4 separate regions of the Homo sapiens genome follow, and regions 2, 3 and 4 are each linked to region 1. Evidence: promoter capture Hi-C in 16 types of primary human blood cells and fetal thymus (Javierre and others, 2016). All regions are on one chromosome and are shown on one strand. Each heading gives the region's core, a stretch centred on a gene start or on the middle of the fragment in contact. The rest is flanking DNA. Distances are from core to core; before and after follow the strand shown. Region 1 holds the start of C1orf87 (chromosome 1 open reading frame 87). Region 2 overlaps PATJ (PATJ crumbs cell polarity complex component). Region 3 overlaps PATJ (PATJ crumbs cell polarity complex component). Region 4 has its middle 210 kb from the start of TM2D1.

Region 1 (3,478 bases), core at 537-3,036:
AGGAAACTAAAGCACAAAGATGTTAAGTGATTTGCCCAAGATTACACTGAACTAGCAGGGCAAGGATTTGAACTCAAAGTGTCTGATTCCCAAGTTCACATATCATTTGAGATCCAACTTAAAGAATGGATAGGCAGGCTGACACAGTGAGAAATGGAAGGGCATTATAGGCAGAGGAAACAAAGTGAACAAAGGCACTGAGGCAGAGATATGAAAGGGAGATTCAAGCCAGTGAGTAGACTGGGTTGGATGCAGCATAACAAGCCTAGGAGAAGTAGTGGGAGATCAAGCTAGAGATCTAGCTTGAAGTCAGATAGTGGAAGGTCTTGAAACCACAGACACCTGCTGTGGCTGATGAGATCTTTCAGACATTTGAGTAGAGGAGGGGGCTTGTCAGAGTTGGGCCTTGGGAAGACTGATCTGGAAGCAACGTGAAGGCTAGGAGGGAGGAGTGAGAAGGGAGCTGTCCCCGCTTCTCTGCTCCCTTAACACTTTCTATATCATAGAATGTGGCTGTGTGTCTCACCCTCTAGAGAGTGAGCCCCTGGAGGGGAGCTGAGTGTGCTGTCCACCTCTGGCTGCATGTGCCAGTGGGTGATATATTCACCTGTAAAGCACAGTACAGCTAGAGGTTAGGAGACAGGGGAACAGATGCTGGAGCTGCTGCTGCCTATGTTGATGCAAATAACAATACCGTTTGGGAATCAATCTAAAGTGTCTTTGCCTGCATCAGCTGAAGTTTCTTTTAGCATAATAACAACTGTCTGGAAATGTAGGATATGCAGATCTATATTCTAATCTTAGCTCTGTACTTGCTTTTGCAGGATTTGGAGTAGTTTATCAATACCCCAACTTGTTTCTTTTCTCTTTAAAATAAAGTAAAACTATTTTGTTTATAACTATTAACTTGTGAGGTGAGAGTTATCCAGCTTGTCATAGGGATCTGGCATAGAGACAGTACTCAACGTTATTATTATCAATCTATAATATTCTGGTTTTTTTGTTTCTTTGTTTGTTTGATATGGAGTCTCGCTCTGTTGCCCAGGCTGGAGTGCAGTAGTACCATCCTGGCTCACTGCAAGGTCCACCTCCCAAGTTCAAGCAATTCTCCTGCCTCAGCCTCCTGAGTAGCTGGGATTACAGGCGCGCACCACCACGACCGGCTAATTTTTTGTATTTTTAGTAGAGACGGGGTTTCACCATGTTAGCCAGGATGGTCTCAATCTCCTGACCTCGTGATCTGCCCACCTCGGCCTAACAAAGTGCTGGGATTACAGGGGTGAACCACTGAGCCCGGCCGATATTCTTATTTAATTTAGTCACCAAATCGCAGTTAGGACAGTGTTATTATTTTGCCCCGTTTCACAGATGAGGAAACAATCTCAGGGAAAAGAAGGGATTTACTCAAGCCATACAGTGGAGACGTCTGGATTTGAACCTACTGTGTTGGAATCTCAACTATGTGCAAACTCACAAAGGGAAATGAAGCCTTCGGAGGAAGGGCGGGACAAGGGTGACCACACAGGTGAGCGAGATGGGCTTCTAGAAGGACGCCCGCATATCTCTGAGGAACAGAGAAGGCACAGATCAAAAACACCTAGGCTCTTCACCCGTTGGCAGCCAGAGCCTGGGTCCATTGCCTAGGCAGTGGAGAAAAACCTGGTCCCCGCCCAGAAACAGCCTTCAGCGTCCTTAGCGACCAGGGCGGAACAGGCGCCGCCCGCGATGCGGGCCCTGTGATTGGCCGGATTCCTGGGCTCGGTCCCCACGCCCCGTCCCGTCCCCGGGTCTGAGAGTGTCAGCTTCCTGGGGAGAAGCACGGACCGCGCACCTCTGAGCTGCCAGGGTGGGGACGCTGCCCTAGCGGTAAGCCCCCCGACTCTGTTCTCTCCGGGCAATCAGGGCCGACACGCAGCTGCTGGGCAGGGAGGGGATTTGAGGATCACGAGTTCCGGGTCTGGAAGATTCCAGACAGGTGCAAAGAGGCTGCAGGTCCCCGGGATGAGGGGCTGCCCTAGCACAGGTCTTTAGTATTGGACTTTTGGGAAGAACCCTGGCCTAGACATCAGACCCAAGTACTGGAAACAGTCCCGTCCTTCATTCCTCTGTGACCCTTGTCAAATAACACACCCTCTCTGGGCCTTAGTTTTCCAATCTGTGAAGGAGCCTTTGGAGTAGAATGATTTCTAAAGGCCTTTCAGCCTCTGGGTGGTTCTAAAAGGGAGTGTTCAGCTGTGGCCAGATTTACTGAACTTCTGATTTTCCCTTGGCATCACTCTGTTTAAACACCTTGTGCAGGAGTTCAATTTCAGATTCATTGTATTGTTGTAGAAAGAGATCAGTGATAACAACAAAAGTCTGTCTGTCTTGTGTACAGTCTCCCTTCAGATGCATTATCTCCTTGGATTCACCCTCAAGTCCCTGAGAACAGACCTAGAATTACCCTGATCTCATAAATGGGGAAACTAAACATCAGAACTGAATATGGATTCTTCATATGTCCCACTAATGCCCTTGTTTCTGCTCTGACCTCACTGGAATTCCATCCTATGTCTTGTAGTACAGGAAGGTAGAGTCACCTAATGATTCAGTAGATCTGCTGTACAGACCTCTTAGGTGAGATTCCCAAGTCGGCTAATTACTGGTGATGTGATGTGATGTGAGTAAGTCATATAGCTACATTTTGCTTGTTTCCTCAACAGTAAAACAAAAATGATAATAGTAGTTAAAAATATCTTTCTCATGCCTTTGTTAGGAGTGTTAAGTGAGGTAATATAGGTGAAACACTTTGTCCTGCTATTATTATTGCTTGTTGTTATTGGCAAGGATGATGCAGTTCCCTAATGGAAAATCAAGAGGAACAATTTACTTATTTTCACCCCTAGGGATCTGAAGGGATTTTGAAAGGAATCATGTCTTCAGCCTGGAAGACTCCCCGTGGATCAGATGCAATGCCTGAGATCATGGTGAAAATCATTGGAAGTAAACACTTTCAATACCTCGTGGAGAAGCCAAAGATGTAAGTCCATATTTGAAAAATATCTATGTTGCTTGGATGATAATGAAGTTTTATTGTTTTGTTTTCACCCAGAAATTTAAACTTAAAAAATGCCATCCATGGAAAACGAAGTCATTAAGATGCAACAGTAGAGGTAAAATCGTGTTGATAACTTCCATGTGCACTGTTTTCCTGATATTTTTCATCTTTATAATTCCCCATACTCCTTAATTACTTGGGCTGATTTTCCAAATAGATGGGAAATATGAGCATTGCGACATTTATAAATATTAATGGAGCACTGCTGCCTTTTCTCATCGGGCTTGTAATCTACCACATGTACTAATTTTGGGGAGAGTGGGGGAGGTTTAATAGTCAATTTGTTGTGAATTACAGGAGTAGGATTAATACAGAATCATAAATTGTAAGGTTTTCACTTACTCCTGTTTGTATTTGATACTCCTCTAAGCTTGGGCTTCT
Region 2 (3,478 bases), core at 397-2,896, 1.8 Mb before region 1:
TCATAGCAGTTGAGAATGGACTAATACAGAAGGGTAATGCAAGGGAGTTTGGTGGTGATGACACAGCTGAGTTTCTCAATTGTGGTGGTGCATATGCAAGGTTTTACATGTGATAAAACTGTATAGAGCTACAAACACACACACAAATCAATGCATGAATAACTGGTGAAATCTGAATAAACTACGGATTGAGCCAATGTCAATTTCTTGGTGTTGCTATTATAGTATAGTTGTATAAGATATTAAAATTGGAGGTGACCGAGTGAAAGGTACATGGGACTTCCCTGTACACTTCTTTGTAATTTCCTATAAATTTATGATGATTTCAGAATACATTAAGAAAAAATATAATACGAAACATTAAAAAATTAAGTTACAATAGATCAGCAATCAAAGTAAAAAGTGAATTCGTCTCACTTATTTTCTAGATGATTAGATTCAAAAAACAAAATTTAGTTGGATGTTGCTTACAAAAAATACAACTAAAACTAAATGAAAAGAATGGTGGAAAAGAAGGAATGAAAAAAGCAAAGTACTGTCCGGGCGCAATGGCTCATGCCTATAATCCCAGCACTTTGGGAGGCTGAGGTGGGCGGATCACCTGAGGTTAGGAGTTCGAGATCAGCCTGACCAACATGGCAAAACCCTGTCTCCACCAAAAAATTCAAAAATTAGCCGGGCGTGGTGGTGGGTGCCTGTAATCCTAGCTACTTGGGAGGCTGAGGCAGGAGAATTGCTTGAACCTGGGAGGTGGAGGTTGCAGTGAGCTGAGATTGCGCCACTGCACTCCAGCCTGGGTGACAGAGAGAGACTCCATCTCAAAAAAAAAAAAAAAGCAAAGTACCATGTAAATTAATAACTAAAATAAAACAAGGTTACCAATATTAATAAAATAGAATTTAAGGCAAAAAGTAACTAATAGGAATACAGAAGAAAACCACATAATGTCAAAAGCAAATCACCAACAACAAATCCACTAAATATGTACAGCAAAACCAACAGAATTACAAAGAATAGCAAACAAATCCATAATCACAGTGGGGGACAAACTCTAACTGAAACTGAGGAAAAAGACCAAAAAAATTAGTAAGAATATGGGACTCCTTATTTGTTTATCTAACTGACTATTATTATATGGATGTCAAATAGGCATCTTAGCCTAACATGTCTAAAACATGTCTCCCCAAATCTGTTCCTCCCACAGTCTTGCCCATCTCAGCAAACAGAAATTCCATCTTCGATTCCTCAAGCTGAAAAGCTTTTGAATTATCTTTGCCACTTTATTCTTTTGCATCCATTCTGTTAGTAAGTCCTATTATTCACCTGCAAAATATACCACAACCTGACTGCTCTCCTCCTGGTCCAGGCCGCCATTCTTTCTCTCCTAAGTTACTGCAACAGCCTTCTGGCTGAGGCCCCTGCTTCCATCCCTGCCCCTGAAGCCAGAATACTCCTTTGAAACAATACTTACCTGTTCATAATTCTCCAGTGACTCTCCGCTGCGTTCAGAGCAGAAGACCTTCCAGAGCTTTCAGGATCTACGTGATGTGGCTTCCCATCACTCCTCAGCCCTTTTCTCTTACCCCTTCTGGCTTGTTCATGCTATGCTATCATTGCTGGACTCACTGCTGCTCCTTGAACACATCCAGGCAAGCTCCTACCTCGGAGCTTTTGCATGTTTTTCTTCCTCCATATATCTATATGGCTCACTCTCTCATTTCCTATATTTGTCCCAATATCATCTTCCATAACAAAGTTATTAAAATTGCAACTATTGCTTTCACCATCCCCAACCCCAACGCTCCTTATCCTCCTCCCCTGCTTTATTTTGTTCCCTAGCTACTTATTGCAATCTGACATTCTACATATACTTATTTTATTGTCTATTCCCCCATTCCCACTATCATGTAAACACCATAAGGGAAGGGACTGTTGGTCATTTTCTTCATTGCCATAAGTAGTATATTTGAAAATTGTTTTAAATATTGCACAGCACAAATATAACTCAACATTTGTATATACAGACAAGCTTTTATGTAGTTCCTTAATTTAATCCTCACAATAATGCTATCGATTTTGAATTCTCATTTCCATTTTATCTGAAAACGGAAAATAAGTAGGTCTAATGACTTGTCCAAAAACACATAGAAAATAAAAAGGACAGACTCCGACTCCAACCCATGACATCCAGGGCTCTTTGTATTCTATCACAGCTGAAACACCATGATTAACAGTTAGCATCATAAAGAATGAATCAAGAACAAGCAGATTATGGGATTACAGATACCCACCATGGTGTCACCCAATTAACCCAATGCAAAGAAATGTATCACATTCAGACCTCAGGGCATTCTCAGTGGTTTAATATGCCTTTTTTTTTTTTTCCTGCTTTGAGACAAGAGTGTCGTTCTGTCACCCAGGCTGGAGGGAAGTCCGATCTTGGCTCACTGAGACCCCCACCTCCAGGGTTCCAGCGATTCTCCTGTCTCAGCCTCCTGAGTAGCTAGGAATACAGGCACGTGCCACTACGCCCGGCTGATTTTTGCATTTTTAGTAGATGGGGTTTCACCATATTGGCCAAGCTACTCTCAAACTCCTGACCTCAAGTGATCTGCCTGCTTCGGCCTCCCAAAGTGCTGGTATTACAGGCATGAGCCACCGTGCTCGGCCTGATGTGCCTTTAAAACTTAGCGCCCACAGAGCGTATCCGGTGCGAATCATGGATCCTCCCCTCACCCAATAGAGTCTTCAACCTTCCAGGGTCAACTTCTTTCTCTAAACAAGCATAATATCCTCCTGACACATAATTATAAAATTTAGGGCTTCAGGAAAAAAATTTAGAGCTTGTTAAAGAATGTGGGAGAAGCATAATGCCTACCATCTGCCCTGTTCTATATAGAGCCCTTTGTTAGTTAAAGTGTTTTTTTGCAATCAGCTGAAGTTTTTATCATTTTATTTGTTTACCCCTGCCCACACTCACTTGAGAAACTCATAAATTGTGCATACAATGTACAAACTAAGGCATATAAATAGAGCACACCAACTGTACACACACGGTCCCCAACACATAAAGAAAGGTCTTCTAGCTAAATGATTATTTCACTGTCTTACCGTATGTTTCCAATAAAAACAGTACTTTAACATCATTTACCTCAAGTATTTTATCTCCAGTTTTAAGTGCGTTCGTCTTCCCTGCTGGACTGTCTTCTAAAACTTGTTTGATGAATATACCTTTAAGCTCCTCTCCATTCTTTAGACGTTTTATAACAGTTTGTCCACCAACAATACTGATCCCAAGAGACACATTGGGTTCTCTAAAAATCTCAACACTATATAAAGGAAAAAAACAAAACTCACTCATCAACAAGTTTAATCTGTTGGACTGTAAGTATTCCATTTGCATCATATCCTTGTGACTCATATTTTATATAAATTTTTGAAATATATTTTTACAAATGTTATACAAATTATACCTAGT
Region 3 (3,478 bases), core at 653-3,152, 1.7 Mb before region 1:
TTTGTATTTGTATTTCTTACTCTCATTTTGAATTAAATCCCTCTCAATATATTGAGATGGCATTAATATTTAGTCACTACTCTAATCTGACTTTGTAAATAATTTAAAATTAAACTACAAGGCGAGCCATATTTTCCTCAGATTTTGTACATCTGAGGAAAGCTTGGTCAGTTGGCCGACACAGTCACAACAATGAAGTGACTCAAGATGCAGGTAAACTGGGAAGGGAAGAAAGACTCTCAAGTGTCAGCCTTGAAAATTCAAACCTGGCCAGGCGTGGTGACTCATGCCTGTAATCCCAGCACTCTGGGAGGCCGAGGCAGGTGGATCACCTGAGGTCAGGAGTTCGAGACCAGCCTGACCAACATGGTGAAACCCCATCTCTACTTAAAAAAGAAAAAAATTAGCCGGGGGTGGTGACACATGTCTGTAAAGTCCCAGCTACTTGGGAGGCTGAGGCAGGAGAATCGTTTGAACCCAGGAGGCGAAGGTTGCAATGAGCTGAGATCATGCCACTGCACTCCAGCCTGGGCGACAGAGCAAGACTCTGTGCAAAAAAAAAAAAAGAAAGAAAAGAAAATTGAAACCTATAAAATTATGGCATACATAGCATAAAATCATGGAAGATAAATATTGATTACAAATATTCAACCAAGAAGAAAATGGTAGCACTATCTAAAGACTTTTCAACTTCTTATGAAACCTTCATGGGATGCAGAAAATACATTTTTAGCCTGGCGCTGTGGCTCATGCCTGTAATCCCAGCACTTTGGGAGGCCAAGGTGGGTGGATTACCTGAGGTCGGGAGTTGGAGACCAGCGTGACCAACAGGGAGAAACCTCGTCTCTACTGAAAATACAAAATTAGCCGGGCATGGTGGTGCATGCCTGTAATCCTAGCTACTAGAGAGGCTGAGGCAGGAGAATCGCTTGAACCCGGGAGGCAGAGGTTGCGGTGAGCCAAGATTGTGCCACTGCACTCCAGCCTGGGCAACAAGGGCGAAACTCTGTCTCAAAAAAAAAAAAAAAAAGAAAATACATTCTTAAAACTGCATGTGACAGAAGAGTTTAAGGTAGGCTCAGCACTTATATCCCATGCAGAATTACACTATGACTTCTGAAACCACTCAGGCAAGAACATCTTTCCTTTCTTATCAATTGTTGAGGAGGCCGCCTACAAGGCTTCTCTAAGTTTCAATTGCCCTGGCCTCTGCTTATCCAGAATGGGAATGTTTAGTGACAGGATGCTAAAAAATGTTGGAAAAAAAACTGTCGAAGTTGTCTTCTGGCACCTTGCCAACAGAAATAAAGCTTACCAAAAACGTTTTAAGTTCAAGAACAACTACTGCCTACACTCAGAAGATAAACCACTTTTCTTTCCTTGAACATCTGAACCTGAAGCCTTTTTTAAAGCCTGTATTCCCGGGTCTTGATTTTTAGGAAACATTCATTAAAGGACTCCTTATAATATCTAAAAAACTAACGCACACTGCACAATGTTACTCTGCATACTACCTCTAATGTGGGCAAAGGAGTCAAACCTGGGTTTTGGCTTCTGAACATGACATAGGGATCCTGTGTTCTTCCCAGGCATCATCTTTCATAACAGTGAGACCCATCACATTTCTAGGAAACATGCAAGACTAAATTCTGGAAACTTTAGGTCACAGCACTAATTTAGTTTCTTCAGCAAGAATTTAAAGAAAGTTCTTCAAACGATAAAAAAATGGGCCGAGTTCAGTGGCTCCACCTGTAATCCTAACACTTTGGGAGGGAAACACGGGAGGATCACTTTAGCCTATGAGTTTGAGACCAACCTGGACAACATAGTGAGACCCTATCTCTTAAAAAAAATAAAACTGTTAACTTTGTTATAAAAAATGCTTACCTTTGAATATTTCTGTAACTCAGCATCATCTGCAATCTGTGTGTCCAAAGTAGCAACCTAAATTTACAAAAAAAATTTCCAGTATTTGTAAAAGCATAACTGTATTTCCTCCTACATTTTCTGAAAATATCTGTAAAACCTATATATTGATAACTCTATTTGACCTACATTCCGATACCTTTCTTATATTTTTGAAATCTATAACACATAATGTGAAATTTCAGAGTATATTTGATTTTTTTGTTGTTGTTCTCCACAACAATCTTTTTTCCTAAATTACATAAATTGAACAGAAGGTGATGGGCACATATATATACTATTTTTAAAAATCCATGACCCCTAAAATTTTAATATAATCCTCCATTATCCTGGATGCATAAAAATTTTACTCTTTTGACAAAATCAAAAATATGGCCATTTTTACTTTCAAACCCAAGCCTCAAAACAAAATTTGCAAGGTCAGTAAAGTCAGATGTGTTTGGAAAAACTAAAGCATCTGACTTTCCACAACAAGCTCAAACCATTTCCCCAGGAGAAATAGCTGGCAAAGACATAAACGGAAAGACCTGGTCCTTGGTGGAAAGCTCATGGAATACTTAAAGCTTTTAATCCTGGCCTAAAACTATTGTTCTAAGCTTCAATGGTGGACATCCACAGAAGTGAATTCCTTGCAAGCAAAAGTATGTTACTGATGATTTGCATCTGTAACTTGTTAATAAAATATGATGCATCTGGCGGGAAGGGATAAGTTAAACAATGACCCAACTACAGCTTCTGAAAGTACTGCATTTCAGATAAGCAGATCCTGTAAGAAAGTTTTTTAACAAAATAAGAAATATTGGAGTACACGCATTCATTCATTCTCCATCATGCCTAGCTTCTTTCTGCCAACCATTCCTCGGTACAAGATGCTACAACTTTTAATGGATAGCTGTCACTTTAAATTTCCAACTTCAAATTCTGTCTCCTCTTTATAATTTGTCTGTTATGACCTCACCATGTAATAAATAAATGAAATTTAAAAGTTTAATTATAAGGAGAATAAAATTTTAACAGAAGGCTGGCAGTGGCTCATGTCTGTATCCCAGAACTCTGGGAGGCCAAGCAGGGTGGATCACTTGAGCCCAGGAGTTCGAGACCAGACTGGGCAACACAGCGAGACACCATCTCTAAAAAAATTTGAAAAATTAAGCGAGCGTGGTGGCTCATGCTTGTAGTTCCAGCCAGTCAGGAGGCTGAGGTGGGAGATCACTTGAGCCCAGAAAGTTGAAGCTGCAGTGAACTATGATTGTACCACTGCATTCCAGCCTGGGCAACAGAGAAAGACCCTGTCTCTCAAAAAAATGTTTTTTTGTTTTTTGTTTTGTTTTGTTTTGTTTTTGAGGTGGAGTCTCCCTCTTTTGCCCAGCTGCAGTGCAGTGGCACGATCTCAGCTCACCACAACCTCCGCCTCCCAGGTTAAGCAATTCTCCTGCCTCAGCCTCCTGAGTAGCTGGGATTACAGGTGCCCACTATCACACCCAGCTAATTTCTGTATTTTTAGTAGATACAAGGTTTCACCATGTTGGCCAGGCTGGTCTCAGACTCCCGA
Region 4 (3,478 bases), core at 383-2,882, 1.4 Mb before region 1:
TAAAAAACCAATGCAGTATAACAACTATTTACATACTCCAGATCAGCAGTCTCCAACTTTTTTGGCACCAGGGACCAGTTTCATGGAAGACCTCAGTCAGATCACCAGGCATTAGTTAGATTCTCATAAGGAGCAGGCAACCTAGATCCCACACGCACTGTTCACAATAGTGTTCACACTCCTGTGAGAATCTAATGCCCATGCTGATCTGATAGGAGGTGGAGCTCAGGTGGTAACGCTTGCTCACCCGCCACTCATGTCCTGCTGTGTGGCCCAGTTCCTAACAGGCCACAGACTGGTACTGGTCTGCGGCCTAGGGGTTGGGTTCCCTGCTCTTTATTACTTATAAGTCATCTAGAGATGACTTAAAGTACACAGGAGGTTGTGTGTAGGTTAGATGCAAATACGACACCATTTTATGCCAGAGACTTGAATATCTGCAGATTTTGATAATTGCGGGGGTCCTGGAACCAATCCCTCATGGACACCGAGGGATAACTGTATATTAAATCCCTTCCAACTTACAAAGTCACTGACCCACCTTAGCTCTCAGAACCTGAGTAGAACCAGGTGGAGGTAGGCTGAGGTAACCATAAAATTCCGAGATTCACTCATAATTTTAAGCATTTACTGAGTGTCTACTTCATGCAACTCATCTCCATAATGTATGGCACTCCCCTCAAAGGACGTGGACTTGTGTGACCCTAACAGGCCTTTCTCTTTACTGTGCATTGTTGAATGAATGCCACCAACACATGTTTACTGTTTTTTCTCCACATGTCTACTGTTCTCCCCTTCTTCACTAATTACCCAAGCCACTTCTGTGTGACCCCATGCATTCTAGCTACTCTAATACTCTCAGTCAGGTCATCGTCAAAGATGTTCGGGAGTTTGGGAGCCATTTTTCTCTTCCATGAATATTAATTGTGTGTTTATTACATGTTAGATACTGTTCTAGGTTCTAGAAATACAGACCCTACCATTGTGGAACCCTGTGAAGTAAGGAAGACAGATAACAAATAAATAACTAATCTTGTAAGGTCATGGTAAGGGTATGAATAAGGATAACAGGAAAGAGAAAAACAGAACATGATGGTGGTGTCTTAGGAAATGTGGTCAGCAAAGTTATCTCTGAGGAGGTAAAATTTATGCAAAGATCTCAGTGATGTGAGAAAATGAACCATGAAAAAGCTTGTTGCACATGCACTTTCAGATAGAGAATAGCTAACACAAAGATCCTGCAACTGAAGCAGACTTGGACCATTCCGAGAAGAGCCGAGGCCTGTGTGGCTGAATCACAGTGAGCAGGAGAGGGGCTGTTAGGAAATTAGGTCAGACAGGTGGTTATGAGCTAGAGTATGGGGTTGGGTGTCATTTCTATGTCTTTAATGTGACTTCAGTAAGTGAATTATTATTTTAATGTGTATCTTTCTTGTATGTAACTAACATGTAGCTTTATTTCTCCAGGGTTTCTTAATCATTAGTTTAAATATCTGGACATAAACAAATTTAATCCAAACTACAGCCCTAGAAATAACATGGGTCTTAGGATCACGTTGGCTTAACTTTTGGACCCATCTGTAAAATGAGGATAAGTTGCTCTGTCCCATCTGGTTGCTATGAGGATTAAATGACATAATATATAAAGTGAAAGCATTCAGCACTGTGCCTAATACTCAGATGACACTCAGATTTTAGTTTTGTGTTACCAGAGCACAAGATAGTGGAGGTTGGGGATGAGGGTCCCTGGGGGATACCAGGATTAGCTCACATCAGGCACTGTCTCACATGCTAAATCGATGATGAGATTTTATCCTGATGGTGAGGCACCTTGGAAGAGTTTTGAGAAGGAGAGTGAGAATGAGATTATTCAGTGAAAGACGTATTTGTGAAGATGGTGGCCGTGGTGGGAAAGGTTAGGGAAGGTCAGGAGACAGCAGTACCAACAAGAAGGCCACTGCAGTATTCTTGGTGAGAAATGAGGAGAGCCTGTATGGTGTGCATATATTTTCTCCCATTCTGTAGTTTGTCTCTTTACCCTATTGATTGTTCCTTGTCTGTGCAGAAGCTTTTTAGTTTGCTGTAATACCGTTTGTCTATTTTTGCATTTGTTGTCTGTGATTTTTGGCTTATACCCAAAAATCATTGTTCAGACTAAGGTCATGCATGAAGCTTTTCTCTTATGTTTTCTTCTAGTAGTTTTATAGTTTTGGGTCTTACATTTAAATCTTTAATCCATGTAGAGTCGATGTTTGTATAAGATGTGAGATAAAGGTCTAATTTCATTTTTCTGCATGTGGATATTCAGTCGTCTCACACTATTTATTGAAGAGAGCTCTTTCTCTATTGTGTGTTTTTGGCACCTTTGTCAAAAATCAAGTAATCGTAAATGTGCAGATTTATTTCTTGGCTTTCTATTCTGTTGCATTGGCCTATGTGTCTATTTTTATGCCAGTACCATGCTAATAGGGAGCTAATATTCAAAATATATAAGGAACTCAACTCAATAGTAAGAAAACAAATAATCTGATTTAAATATGGCCAAAGGATCTGAATAGACATTTCTCAAAAGAAGACATACAAATGGCCAACAGGTATAAGAAAAAATGCTCAAGATTTCTAATCATTAGAGAACTACAAATTAAAACCACAATAAGACATTAACTTACACCTGTTAGTGTGGCTACTATCAAAAGGGCAAAAGATAAAAAGTGTTGGCGAGGACATAGAGAAAAGGGAACTCCTGTACAGTGCTGGTGGAAATGTAAATCAGTACAGCCATTATAGAAAACAGCACGGAGGTTTCTCAAAAAATTAAAATTAGAACTGTCACAGATCCAGCTATCCCACTACTGCATACATATCCAAAGGATATGAACTCAGTATGTTGAAGAGGTATCTGCACTTCTGTGTTTATGCAGCAGTATTCACAATAGCCAAGATATGGAATCAAACTAAGTGTCCATCATCAGATAAATGAATAAAGAAATTGTGGTCTATGTATACAGTGGAATACTCTCCAGCTTCAAAAAAGAAGGAAATTCTGTCATTTGCAACAACATAGATGAACATCAAGGATATTACGCTAAGTGAAATAAGTCAGGCCGAGAGACAAACACTCCATGATCTCACTCATATGAGGAATCTAAAAAAGTGCAATTCATTAAAGTAGAGAGTAGAATGGTGGCTACAGGGGCTGGGGGTGGGGAATTGAGGAGATGCAAAAACAACAACAACAATGATGAGAGCCTTTGCTCCTGGGGAGTGAGGGATGGGAAATGGATTTAAGAGATGCTTGTAGTTCCCAAAGCCGTTCATGTGTTGGTGCCATCAAGAGAGCTTTGGCCTCTGCCTGCACGGCCTCTCTCCTTCTGCACCTGCCTGTCTTCTCCTCACCCTCATCTTGAGCATTTTCAGCTCAGGGAAGCCCTGACTTGCCCTCAAGCTGGCTTCAGATGCCTTTCCTGTTGTTCCTTCC

Evidence for each region. The method cuts DNA at HindIII sites, captures the fragments that hold promoters and counts their contacts. A CHiCAGO score of 5 or more calls a contact.
Region 2: a contact is called between a fragment that was not itself captured here and the fragment with the promoter of C1orf87 in region 1, in 4 of 17 cell types (endothelial precursors, M2 macrophages, M0 macrophages and 1 more). The highest score is 7.8, in endothelial precursors.
Region 3: a contact is called between a fragment that was not itself captured here and the fragment with the promoter of C1orf87 in region 1, in 1 of 17 cell types (endothelial precursors). The highest score is 5.9, in endothelial precursors.
Region 4: a fragment that was not itself captured here is called in contact with the fragment with the promoter of C1orf87 in region 1 in 1 of 17 cell types (endothelial precursors); the score reaches 6.4 in endothelial precursors.

What each region holds. Positions count from the first base shown.
Region 1 is chr1:60,072,078-60,075,555 of GRCh38, reverse strand. It overlaps C1orf87 (chromosome 1 open reading frame 87), which reads left to right and starts at 1,786. Exons shown (of 12, transcript NM_152377.3): 1 at 1,786-1,866; 2 at 2,886-3,019. The coding sequence starts at 2,913. The HindIII fragment of the contact is 5,384 bases long and covers 1-3,469 here.
Region 2 is chr1:61,901,133-61,904,610 of GRCh38, reverse strand. It overlaps PATJ (PATJ crumbs cell polarity complex component), which reads right to left. Exons shown (of 44, transcript NM_001350145.3): 24 at 3,152-3,329. Among named protein-coding and RNA genes, the nearest start is that of MIR12132, 57 kb to the right of the region's middle. The HindIII fragment of the contact is 771 bases long and covers 1,261-2,031 here.
Region 3 is chr1:61,806,940-61,810,417 of GRCh38, reverse strand. PATJ (PATJ crumbs cell polarity complex component) reads right to left here. Exons shown (of 44, transcript NM_001350145.3): 14 at 1,888-1,944. Among named protein-coding and RNA genes, the nearest start is that of MIR12132, 37 kb to the left of the region's middle. The HindIII fragment of the contact is 1,179 bases long and covers 1,313-2,491 here.
Region 4 is chr1:61,513,118-61,516,595 of GRCh38, reverse strand. No RefSeq gene overlaps it. Among named protein-coding and RNA genes, the nearest start is that of TM2D1, 210 kb to the left of the region's middle. The HindIII fragment of the contact is 877 bases long and covers 1,194-2,070 here.